Regions from separate parts of the Homo sapiens genome. Here region 2 is linked to region 1. The links are contacts of gene promoters, found by promoter capture Hi-C in human tissues and cell types (Jung and others, 2019). All regions are on one chromosome and are shown on one strand. The core of a region is centred on a gene start or on the middle of the fragment in contact, and the rest is flanking DNA. Distances in the headings are between cores, read along the strand shown.

Evidence for each region. Contacts are between HindIII fragments. The study calls those that stand out against the background at their distance.
Region 2: a fragment that was not itself captured here is called in contact with the fragment with the promoter of CTAGE1 in region 1 in 2 of the 25 tissues and cell types used here (H1 embryonic stem cells and thymus).

Annotation. Positions count from the first base shown.
Region 1 is chr18:22,414,815-22,420,635 of GRCh38, forward strand. CTAGE1 (cutaneous T cell lymphoma-associated antigen 1) reads right to left here and starts at 3,101. Exons shown (of 1, transcript NM_172241.3): 1 at 1-3,101. The coding sequence starts at 2,997. The coding sequence ends at 760. It also overlaps the pseudogene ATP7BP1. The HindIII fragment of the contact is 3,989 bases long and covers 1-3,754 here.
Region 2 is chr18:22,155,047-22,160,867 of GRCh38, forward strand. No RefSeq gene overlaps it. Among named protein-coding and RNA genes, the nearest start is that of GATA6-AS1, 11 kb to the right of the region's middle. The HindIII fragment of the contact is 8,115 bases long and covers 1-5,821 here.

The DNA of each region.
Region 1 (5,821 bases), core at 1,851-4,350:
AAATAACAACACAATTATGTAATGATATGATGACAAACATAGGAAGAAATTAGCTTAGGGAAGACGAAGGGAAGGAAAGGGAGGGCGAAGAAACCATTCTTGAGGAAAACAGAGGAAACACGAATACTTTCTGCTATAAATGTTTTACACTCTCAAAGTACTGAAAGAGGATATAAAATCTATAAGACAGGAGATCCAAGATCATCTTGGTTTAAAGTGAAATATTCTAACAGTTACATAGTATTCTACCTTCCCACCTGTGCATATTTATATATTTCTTTTTTTAAATTTTTTAAATTTTTTTAATCAACTAAAACTTATTTAAGCATAAAGTTACTTTCACATTTGTCTACAACCACAGTAAATACAGTTCTTGACATAAAGACAATTTAAAGCCTCCCCACCTGCAAGATTACATATATAAAGCTCCCACCATTCTTTATATAATAGTGGATTAATCAAATTAAAAGTTATACTATCTAGAATAAAATAAAATGAAATAATTTACTCATAAGATTCATATTTAAATCATCCTCATTTACAAAATACTATCCTGGGAATTATAGTTCCATTAAGTTTCAATCTGAACAAAAGTGTAATCACTTAAGTAACAGCAGTTACTTAAACTGAAAATGAGATCAGTCAAAATTACTTTTGAAGAGGGCAAACATGTTGTTAGGTTTCTTGCTGTCGTTCTGGATGTTCAGCAGCAGGCTCATTTGAAGTCGGACTCAACCCTGATGGAAACTCATTCTACCTTCAGAATGTGGGGGCTGGGGGGAAAAATGCAGGTCTTGGGGGACGGTAAGGAAGAAAACCTCTCGGTAAATAGACATTTCTCATTGCAAATGGAGCACGTGGTGGACCTGGGACATCCCTTGGAGAAAAATAATCTGGAGAAGCTCCAAACACGGTTCCTGGAGGAGGTGGGGGGAAAGGAGGTCCTCTTCTTATGAACGGGCCCCTTGTATCTACTGGAAACAATAAACCTCTGATTGGAGCAAGAGGTGGAGGAACAAAGCCAGGGCCAGTTGCTTCATTTTCAGCGGGGAGAGATGAATCAGGCACCTTTAAATTACCAAGATTATCTTTGGTATCATTTCTACTGGATTCCATTTCTGAAGGCATTGACCCATCCATTTTATCCAAAGAAGGCATATTAAAACTTCTGAGTTCTGCTGGTCCAGAGAGTCTAGCACAATTAGAATAAAATCTGTCTTGCCTTTGTGGAGGGAGAGCTGAATCAGGATATGATTGTCCTGGTGGAGGAAACATCATCCTATAGTCCTGTTCCCACGGAGGTGCCAGGGGCCCAGCGTCAGAAGGAGCCCTGTGAGGATCAGTTAACCTATCACAGCTTGATTCTCCTCTTTCTTTGGTAATCTGATGGTCCGGAGGATTCCCTGGGCCTCTGGAGCCTCTTCCTCCTCCCCGTGGAAGCAAAGGTGAGAGTCTGAGAGGACCTTCCAACAAAGTTGGAGGATAGAGAGAAGCTCTCGTTTCAGATGAAGGCCAACCCAATGGTGAGGGACCATATGGGGAATGCTGTCTGCCAAATGCTGTATTTGGAACATCAAGTCCATAAGGATCTTTTTCTAAAAGTTTTATTTTAAACTCTATTTCAGTTAATTTTTGTCTGTTGTGAGCATTTTCTTTCCTTAAATCATTGAGGTTTCTTTCAGCAGTCCAAGCTGCCGACCAATTATCATGTGCTTTTTTCTCATGGAGAATAATCTTCTTTTGATAAAAATGAATAGTTTTCTCAAATTCTTTAAGATCTTTGGCTCGCTTTCGGTAGGTCTCCAGCTCTTCAGTGGCATGGCTGATCATTTCGTCTACTTTAGAAAGTTTCTCTTCTTTCTCTAACCGGCATTTTTCCTCTACTATTAATTTCCTGTAGAGTTTCATTTCATTTTCTTGATATAATTCAGTCATTACTTTAAGTTTCTGCTGAAGCTTCTGATTCTCACTTTCAAAATGTGTGTTTTCTGACTGCAAAGATGCTTGTTCAGTCTGAAGATTTTTAATATGCTCTGTAAGCTCTTCCTTTGTTTTATCAACTTCAGATAATTGAATATAAATTTGGTTTCTTTCTCCTTCTAAGGTTTTTAAGGAAGCATTTAACTTAGCAGCATGAATCAGTTTCTTCAAAGCTCCTTTTGGAGGATTATCTAAGTAAGCACCATCTTCCGATTCACTGTTCATTTCTAATTCCAAGTTATCATCATCCGTTACATCTTCTTCAAGCATAGCAACCCCATCTTTCATCTTTAGCAAGCGTTCAGTCAGAGTCTTGATGTGATTTTCTTTATCATTTAGAACTTGTTCTGCATGTACTTTGGAGTCTTCAAATGTTCTTTTCTGTTTAATAAGTTCACTCACTTGTTCTTTCCATACTTCAGCTTCTTGCAAAAGCTGTTTCTGGCTTTCCTGAAGTTCAGAATTTTCTTTCCAAGCATCTTGTATTTCTATCTCCAACCGTTCTTCATTCGCTTGAAATCTCTTGAAGGTCATTTTGGCTTCAGCTACTTGTGATTTGAGGGATTTTGACTCATCTTCTAGCGACTGTATCCTTTTGGAAATATCCGCCATCAATTCATTTTGTTCAGAATGTTTAGATTTCTCTTCTTTTAACTCTTTTTCTAGACAGAGTATTTCATGCACAAGTTCAGAATTGAACCTGTTCAGCTTTTCGCAGGTTGCCTCCAAACTTTGTGCTTCTGTTGCCTCCTTCTCAAAGCTGGCATTCTTTAAAGATGACTCTACTTCATAGCCTTCATACTCTTTTTGAACAAGGCTAAATTTTTCAAGTAGTTTACATTTTTCTTCAATTAGTCCAGAAAGTGCCACAGCAAACTTTTTCTCTCTTCTCACATAAAGCCGACTCGTAACTGATCTAAAACTTCTCCACAAGAAGAGAACAGCAAAAAATCCAGCAACAGCTGCACGTATCACCAATTCCCATGGAAAACCATAAGGATGAGAATCGGGTCTCATACCTTCAGTCAGTGCTGCCACAACCCTGCGTAGCAACTCCAGGACCAGCCCCAGGTATGGCTGAGGGTTAGCCCTAGGCTCCTCCGTAGCGCCAAGGCTGCTCTGGCGGTTGCTGCAGTAACCTCGGCCACAACAAACGCTGGAGAAGACGCAGCATTCCGTTTGGAACCTGAATCCCTAACGGGCAACCGGAGCGTACCACTGCGGAGCCGGCTGCGGGGGGAGTTAGGGGACGCGGGCACCCGTAGGCCTCACAGACCCACACTGCCCACCCCGGTACCTTTGTTACACTTTACATCCTGAGGAAGCGCTAAAACCTATATTTTAAAACAGTACCACATGGTGAGAAAGACTCAGGTGACCCAGCATCCCAGCTATGCCCATCCCAAGCTGACACCCTAGCTAAATGTAGCCTTGTGCATGACCCCAGGTGGGGCGGGCAGAAGAACCTCCCAGCTGACAGAATGATAAGGAATAACAAATCATTGTTTTAAGTCACTAAGCTTTGGGGTCATTTGTTATGCAGCAGTAGCTAACTGAAATACCTGCCCCCTTATCCCTTTGGTGTTTCAGTATCTGTGGCTGAAATAATGAATTTGGGTGCTTGACTAAGATTATGCCCTATGGTAAATTCTGATAGGTAATTTTATAGCTAAAATACAAATTTTCTGATTGACCTTTGCTTCATTGAAGAGATATTTATTTAGCTCCTCCCAAATGAGACAGATTATGCTTTTTAGATTAACTTCTTCCAGGAAAGGGCTCACCACTCCCTAGCATGAGCCTCAGCTGTCCCATGTACAACTGAAAAACGCTAATCTCATCCCCAGAAGATCCAGGACTCTTAGAACAGTGCTGGCACATAGAGAGTGATTCTCTTACCTGTCCATCAAACTTACCTGCTCTGTGTCCATTTCTGAAACACTGGCACTCCTTCAACACGGATGACGCCTTGCCCTGCAATAAGTCATCATCTCCCGCCCATGCACATATCTTCAACTCATCTGGAAAGCTTGCTCCTGCAGCAATGGGTATGCCCACTAGGTTATAAATCAGCGCCAGGACCAGTTTGATGCATATCCTCTGGACAGTCATCTTGGAAATATGAATGCTAGCCACCACATCCAGCAAATCATTTTTGATGAGGATGACGTTGGCTGCCTCGATGACCACATCCGTGCCAGTGCCAGTGGCAATGCCCAAGTCTGCCTGGGCCAAGGCCAGGGAATCATTGACCCCGTCCCCCACCATGGCGACTTTCTTCCCTTCATTCAGGAGCTCCTGAACCTTGGTCACCTTGTGTGAAGGCAACACCTCTGCAAAGACTTTGTTGATGCCAACCTGGGTGGCAAAGGCTCTGACTGTCTTCCAGTTGTCCCCCGTGATCAGAATCACGTTCACATGCATGCTTTGCAGCATGTGCACAGCCAGGGCAACCTCCTGCTTGACAGTGTCTGTGACAGCCATCATTCCACAGAGCACACCTCAACAACTTGCACAAGCACCAGCTCCCTTTGCCATCTTCCGCCCGCATATTTGTATAGTTCTTATATTTTCATTATTAAAAGACAACAAGCTGACTGCATTAGAATTTAAAGGCCTCTGGGTGACAAAACCGTTATAAGCAAAATAAGTAACAGATTTGGAAAATATATGCAACATATAAATTGACAAAGGAATAATATTCAGAATATATAAAGAACTAGGCTGGGTGCGGTGGCTCATGTCTATAATCCCAGCACCTTGGGAGGCCAAGGCAAGAGGATCACTTGAAGTCAGGAGTTCAAGGCCAGCCTGACCAACATGGTGAATCCCCGACTCTACTAAAATTACAAAAATGAGCCAGGTGTGGTGGTGGACGCTTGTAATCCCAGCTACCCAAGAGGTTGAGGTAGGAGAATCTCTTGAACCTGGGAGGTGGAGGTTGCAGTCAGCTGAGATTGCACCACTGCACTCCAGCCTGGGCAACAGAGCAAGACTTTGTCTCAAAAGAAAAAACAAAAGAACTACAAATCATTAATAAAAATATAGTTAATTGAGTAGAAACAGTAGACAAAAGTATGTACGAAGAGACAGGCAATTCTAGAGGAGGGAAATAAAATGTCCAGTGAACAGATAAAATGATACTCAACTTCACTAATTAAAAAAAAGCAAATTAGAACAATAGGGTATGCATTCTACTTCTGGAAAGATGAAGTAGAAGTATTTCCCCCCATTTCTCCTGCTAAGTACAGCTAAAAACCCTGGACAGTAGATATAAAACAACATGAGAAGACTGAACAGTGGAGAGAAGAAGGTAGACCAGCTAGAGATCTCAAAACCCAAGAAACAATATGGTGGTGAGTTCCGTGGGTTTTATTTTTGTCCCAAAGACGAGATGCTAAAGAAGTGGGCAACCAGTAAATGCCATAGACACAGAGCAGGGAAAGCCTGTCTCTCTGGTCAAAAGCCCATAAGAGGGGCAGGCTAGCAAGACAGAAAACTCTTAGGCATGAACTGATCTTTCCCAGCAGACACCACAGAAAAAAACTGTGGCCCACTCCATCTCTACCAGCAAAGTGCAAGAGGGTAACTTAAACTTCCACTCTGGACAAGCTCTACTGAGCACCCCTTGCTTCCCCACAACCCTTCCCCCGTGATATGATTGTTTGTGTCCCCATTCAAATATCATCTTGCACTGTAGTCCCCAATGGAGGGATCCAGTGGGAGGTGACTGGATCATGGGGGCAGTTACTCCCATGCTGTTTTTGTGAAAGTGAGTTCTCATGAGATCTGATGGTTTTATAAGGGGCTTTTGCCCTTTGCTCAGCACTTCTCCTTCCTG
Region 2 (5,821 bases), core at 2,014-4,513, 260 kb before region 1:
GGCACCAGGGATTCTGTGCAGGAGCAGCAAGAGTATCTCCTGGGGAGCCTGGGAGGTTCTGAGCCCTGGACTGAAGGGCAGCCTGAAACCTCAAGAGACCACAGTAATATTACCATCTCCATCAGAACTAACCCTTGCTAAATGCTGATGTGCACAGGGCCCGGTGCCAGGTGCTGCCTATCAGAAATCTGAGCTACCTATTTGCAAAAACCTTCATAGTATTGATTGCTGCTGGCTGTGGAGATAGCAAGGGGGAAATGACCAAAGAGGTTAACACAAGGGCTTCGGAGATATTGATAATGTCTTTTTAAAATTATTATTATTATTTTAAAAGTTTCTGAAATAGAGAAGGGGTCTTGCTATGTTGCCCAGGCTGGTCTTGAACTCCCGAGCTCAAGCCATCTGCCTGCCGTGGCCTCTCAAAGTGCTAGGATTGTAGGCGTGAGCCACCATGCCTAGCCGATATTGATAATGTTTTATTTCTTAAGCTGGATAATACCCGCACTGGGTTTTGTTTCAGTATTCTCATAGCCCACACACATATATATTAGATATACCCTTATAAGTGTACATATTTATAAGTATATGTTTTGGCTGCAAAGATAAATACCAAAATTACAGTGACTTAAACAAGTTAAAGTTATTTATCTTTCATGGAACAGTCTGAGACTAAGTGATCTTTTTCTAAAGCTCTATGATGTCACAGACTGACACCCTCTACTGCAACTTTGTGCAATATGTGGCTTCTGTCTCATTGTGGCTGATCCAGTGCCTGCCATCACGTCTAAATTCTAGCCAGTAGTTTGAGCAAAGGTTAGAGGAAAAGCATGTTTCTTTGCTTTTAAGAGAATGACCCAGAAGTTATTTATTTATTTATTTATTTTTTTGGAGGCAAGAGTCTCACTCCGTCACCCAGGCTAGAGTGCAGTGGTATGATTTCAGCTCACTGCAATCTCCGCTTCCCAGTTTCAAGTGATTCTCGTGCCTCAGCCTCTGGAGTAGCTGGGATTACAGGTGCATGCCACCATGCGCAGCTAATTTTTGTATTTTTAGTAGAGACAGGTTTCTTCATGTTGGCCAGGCTGATATCGAACTCCTGGCTTCAAGTGATCCACTGGCCTCGGCCTCCCAAAGTGCTGGGATTGCAGTCGTGAGCCACCGCACCTGGCCCAGAAGTTACAATTCTATCTCACATCCCACTGTCTAGAACCTGGTCTCTTAGCCCCCCTTAATTGCAAAAAAATCTGAGAAATGTAGTTTTTAGCTGGGCAACAACTGATAGAGCTAAAACATCTTTTCCTGTATAAAAAGGAGGGGCCGGGCATGGTGGCTTATGCCTGTAATCCCAGCACTTTGAGAGGCCGAGGCGGGTGAATCACAAGGTCAGGAGATCGAGACCAGCCATGGTCAACATGGTGAAACCCTGTCTCTACTAAAAATACAAAAATTAGCTGGGCGTGGTGGTGGGCACCTTGAATCCCAGCTACTCAGGAGGCTGAGGCAGAAGAATCGCTTCAACCCAGGAGGCAGAGGTTGCACTGAGCTGACATCATGCCACAGTACTCAGGTCTGTGACAGAGCGAGACTCCATCCCAAAAAATAAAATAAAAAGGAGAGCAAATATTAGAGGGCAGAGAGCAGCCTCTGCTACAAATATATAAAAATATATAGGTGATTAATTTAAAGAGCTGAAAGTAAAAACTATACTTCCCAGTGCATTAACTATGAACTTATTTATTTAAAAATCATTATAGGCTTGCCCTGGCACAGTGGCTCACACCTGTAATCCCAGCAGTTTGGGAGGCCAAGGCGGACGGATCACCTGAGGTCAGGAATTCAAGACCAACTTGGGCAACATGGTGAAACCTCGTTTCTACTAAAAATACAAAAAAAAATTAGCCAGGCAGGGAGGTGCATGCTTGTAATCCCAGCTACTCTGGAGACTGAGGCATGAGAATCGTTTGAACCCGGGAGGCAGGGGTTTCATTGAGCCGAGATCCCACCATTGCACTCCAGCCTGGGTGACAGAGCAAGACCCCATCTCAAAAAAAAAAAAAAAAAAATTATAGTCTTAAAGGAGAGTCAATAGAGAACAGAGAAGCAAACTATAAACATTGGAAGTTACTGCTAATTTATAACTAGTTTGAAATGAAGAATTAAAAGCTGTAGTGTAAATCAACCAGAAAGTGATTTGATTTTTTTTTCTTCACTCAGGGTGGCCTTGAATAATTTGGATTTCAAAAATGCTACATGCCCACAACTCTTCAGAAACATAACTAGCACTTAAAGCTGGGAGACCTCTTGTATGTCGAAGTTAAATTGGTTCTGGACTATTCATGAGTATTGGTGCCAGGGACATGAGGTGATTATGTACGAACAAAACCCACTGTTCCTCTTCTAAATTGTCAGGCGAGATCTCGTGGAGGAGGTAGAATCTCAGGGACTGGTGGAATAGGAAAGGAGGAAGGCTGAATTTCTTTCTTTTTCTTTTTTTTTTTTTTTGAGATGGAGTTTTGCTCTTTCACCCAGGCTGGAGTGAAGTGGTGCGATCTCGGCTCACTGCAACCTCCACCCCTGGGTTCAAGCGATTCTCCTGCCTCAGCCTCCTGAGTAGCTGGGATTACAGGCGTGTGCCACCACGCCCTGCTAATTTTTACATTTTTAGAAAGAGAGGGTTTCGCCATGTTTGCCAGGCTGGTCTTGAACTCCTGACCTCAGGGGATCCACCTGCCTCGGCCTCCCAAAGTGCTGGGATTACAGGCGTGAGCCATTGTGCCCAGCTGGGAGCTTGAATTTCTATTCAGCCCTAGAGCAGTGCGTGAGAGAAGGCTTGAGGGAGAAGAGAAGCCATAGGTGGGACAGGAAGGAGGGTCAAGTGAGGTGCAGGTGCCAGGATTTTGAAAGTAGAGAATGAAGACTATTAAATAGTGAGTAGAAAGTCTGATGCCAGTTAGAGAATTCATTTACAGTTCCAATGTGAGGGGACAGCCCTCAAGCACCTGCTTCCCAAGAGACCTACAGCAGTCTAAGTAAAAGGTTGCCAGGGCCTGGGGAGAGTGTGCCACAGGCCCAAAGACAGTGAGGGTATTATTGTAAGTGAAAGCAATCAACAATGCCCTGGGATGTGGCAATAGGTTGTGATGCTGGTGAGTGGGAATTACTATTTGATGGCATATCAACGAGGCTGGTGATATCATGTCTCAACATCAGAGAAGTGAGTGGCAAGGTTATGGGGAGTGTGCTATATATTTTCATGTACCATTCATTCAACAAATACGTATGACATGCCTGCTATGGGCCAGGCTCTGTTCTGGGCTCTGGGGAAACTGTGATGAACAGAACAGACAAAAATTCCAGTTTTCTTGAGCTTACATTCTTTTTTATTTTTATTTTTTTTAGAGACGGAGTCTCGCTCTGTCGCCCAGGCTGGAGTGCAGTGGCACGATCTCGGCTCACTGCAACCTCCGCCTCCCGGGTTCACGCCATTCTCCTGCCTCAGCCTCCCGAGCAGCTGGGACCACAGGTGCCTGTCACCACGCCTGACTAATTTTTTGTATTTTTAGTAGAGATGGGGTTTCACCATGCTAGCCAGGATGGTCTCGATCTCCTGACCTCATGATCAGCCTGCCTCGGCCTCCCAGAGTGCTGGGATTACAGGCGTGAGCCACCGTGCCCGGCCGTTTTGAGCTGACATTCTAGTGTTCCAGCCTAATTTTATTATTTTGGGTTCCACTTTAATGCCCCAAATCTAATTACAATTTACTTTAGCAGATTCAGTCATGACTTGGCCCTCATAGCATGCAACAGTGATCTCTCTGTCTGAAGAGGTTTTCATCCTTGAGGTCAATTTTCCAGTGAATACACTTGGAGGTTTGATCATTTCTTTCTCATTGACACTCCTTATCTTTTGTTCTAAAAGGCATATTTTTGCATCTACATTTTTAGTATAATTTTATAGTTAAAAGATCTTTGGCTGCATTAGAATCCTGCCAACCTCTCTGCTTTCTTGCTGGCACTTCACACTAAGGCTCCAGTTAATTATCTTTGCTGCTTCTCACTTCCTAAACCTTGTCTGATTAAGTCATTTCTCAAAACTCAGTCAGGTGAGTTTTACGACTGCTCCAGGAAGCCTTCTCTGGTTGCACTCCAACAGTCCCCTGATTTCTCTCTACAGTGGCACTTGCCACCTGGTGTGACGATTTTCTGTAATCTTGTCTGTCTCTCCTGCTTATCTGGGAGCAGCTTGAGGGCAGGGCATTGTCAAGCATCTTTGCTTCCCTAGTACCCACCATAGTGTTTGTCTCAGCAGGATCAAGGAGTTTGACCAAATAAAACAAACACAAACTTACTTGCACTATCACCTAGGGACAGACAGGGTGAGTTGATGATTGCAAATAATTCCCTATAGGAAATGTCTGATATTCTTGAAAGCTTTTTCTCGTCTTTTCTTTTTAGTTTTGATCACCCTCCTACCTCACTTCTTTGAGGCCTTGGTACCTCCTCTCTTCCCCTTAAAAAGTGGCCTGAAATAGAAGTTTGTGTTTTTGCTTATTTATCAAACATCTCAAAAACCCTGTATGGTGAGCCAAACACTCTTCTAAGCATTTTATAAATATTAATTCATTTAATCTTCATGAAAATCATATATATATATTTTTTTTGAGAAGGGTCTTGCTCTGTTGCCCAGGCTGGAGTGCAGTGGCGCAATCTCAGCTCACTGCAACCTCCACCTCCCGGGTTCAAGTGATTCTTATGTCTCAGCCTCCTGAGAGATAAGAATTAGCCTCCTCCGGCTAATTTTTGAATTTTTAGTACAGACGGGGTTTCACCATGTTGGCCACAGAGGTCTCGAACTCCTGACCTCAGGTGATCCACCTGCCTTGGCCTCCGAAAGTGCTGGCATTACAGGCGTGAGCCACCGTGCCTGACCAGGAGTAGAGATATTAAGGAACATGCCCAAGATCACACAACTAAAGAGAAACAGCAAGATGCATATCTGGGATTTGAACCCATGCCTCCATAACTGGTGCTTAATCTAGCTCCAGGTGCAGAGGTGCAGCCAGCTGCTGCAGCAGTTACACTGGATAGACTTTTCCCCATGCACCTAGCCTTTTGCACTTCTGCCCAAAGCATGCTGAGCTCTGGACAGAAAGATGACTGAAATGTAAAGGTTGACAGCTTTGTGGATCCACACTGTGGTTTTTGGCTAGAGTTTGCTGGGCACTGGTAGTCAATCTTTAAAAATGGTATAATAGTCACACTTTTTTTGTTGGATAATTGCATATCTTTAATTTGTGGTATTATAAACAGCAGTAATCTAGCTTAAGAGTAGCCAGAAAAAGTTATTTGATATCCATTAAGTCAGGTTTCTATCTTTATCCACCTCTGTAGGGGTGAATATTATTATGGCCAGGAAAAAGCAACATTGTAATATACTCTAAAGGGTGTCTCTTGAGTGGATAGATTAAAAATAAAAATCCCTTCTGAAGAAGGTAGGCAACTACTCTGCTTCCTTCCCTAATAGGTTAATACAATTTTCCCCTTAGGTATTATGACAATTTGGCTCTCTGTAGGACATGAACATTAAAGGGGGGGGAGGGGAATCATACCTTTCTTAGTCCATAGACTTAGAATAGTGATTAAAAAAAAATACCTACTTAAACTGCTGCCACCTAAAATGTGTACCTTAGTCAGAAAACTCTGATAGTTCAAGATAAATGAAAACATTAGCTCATGCAAAAGAATTGCTTATTTGGTAAGTATGAAGTCCCTTTAGAGTAATCATTGAGAATAAGGGCGTCCATCCTCAGTGATTGCTTTT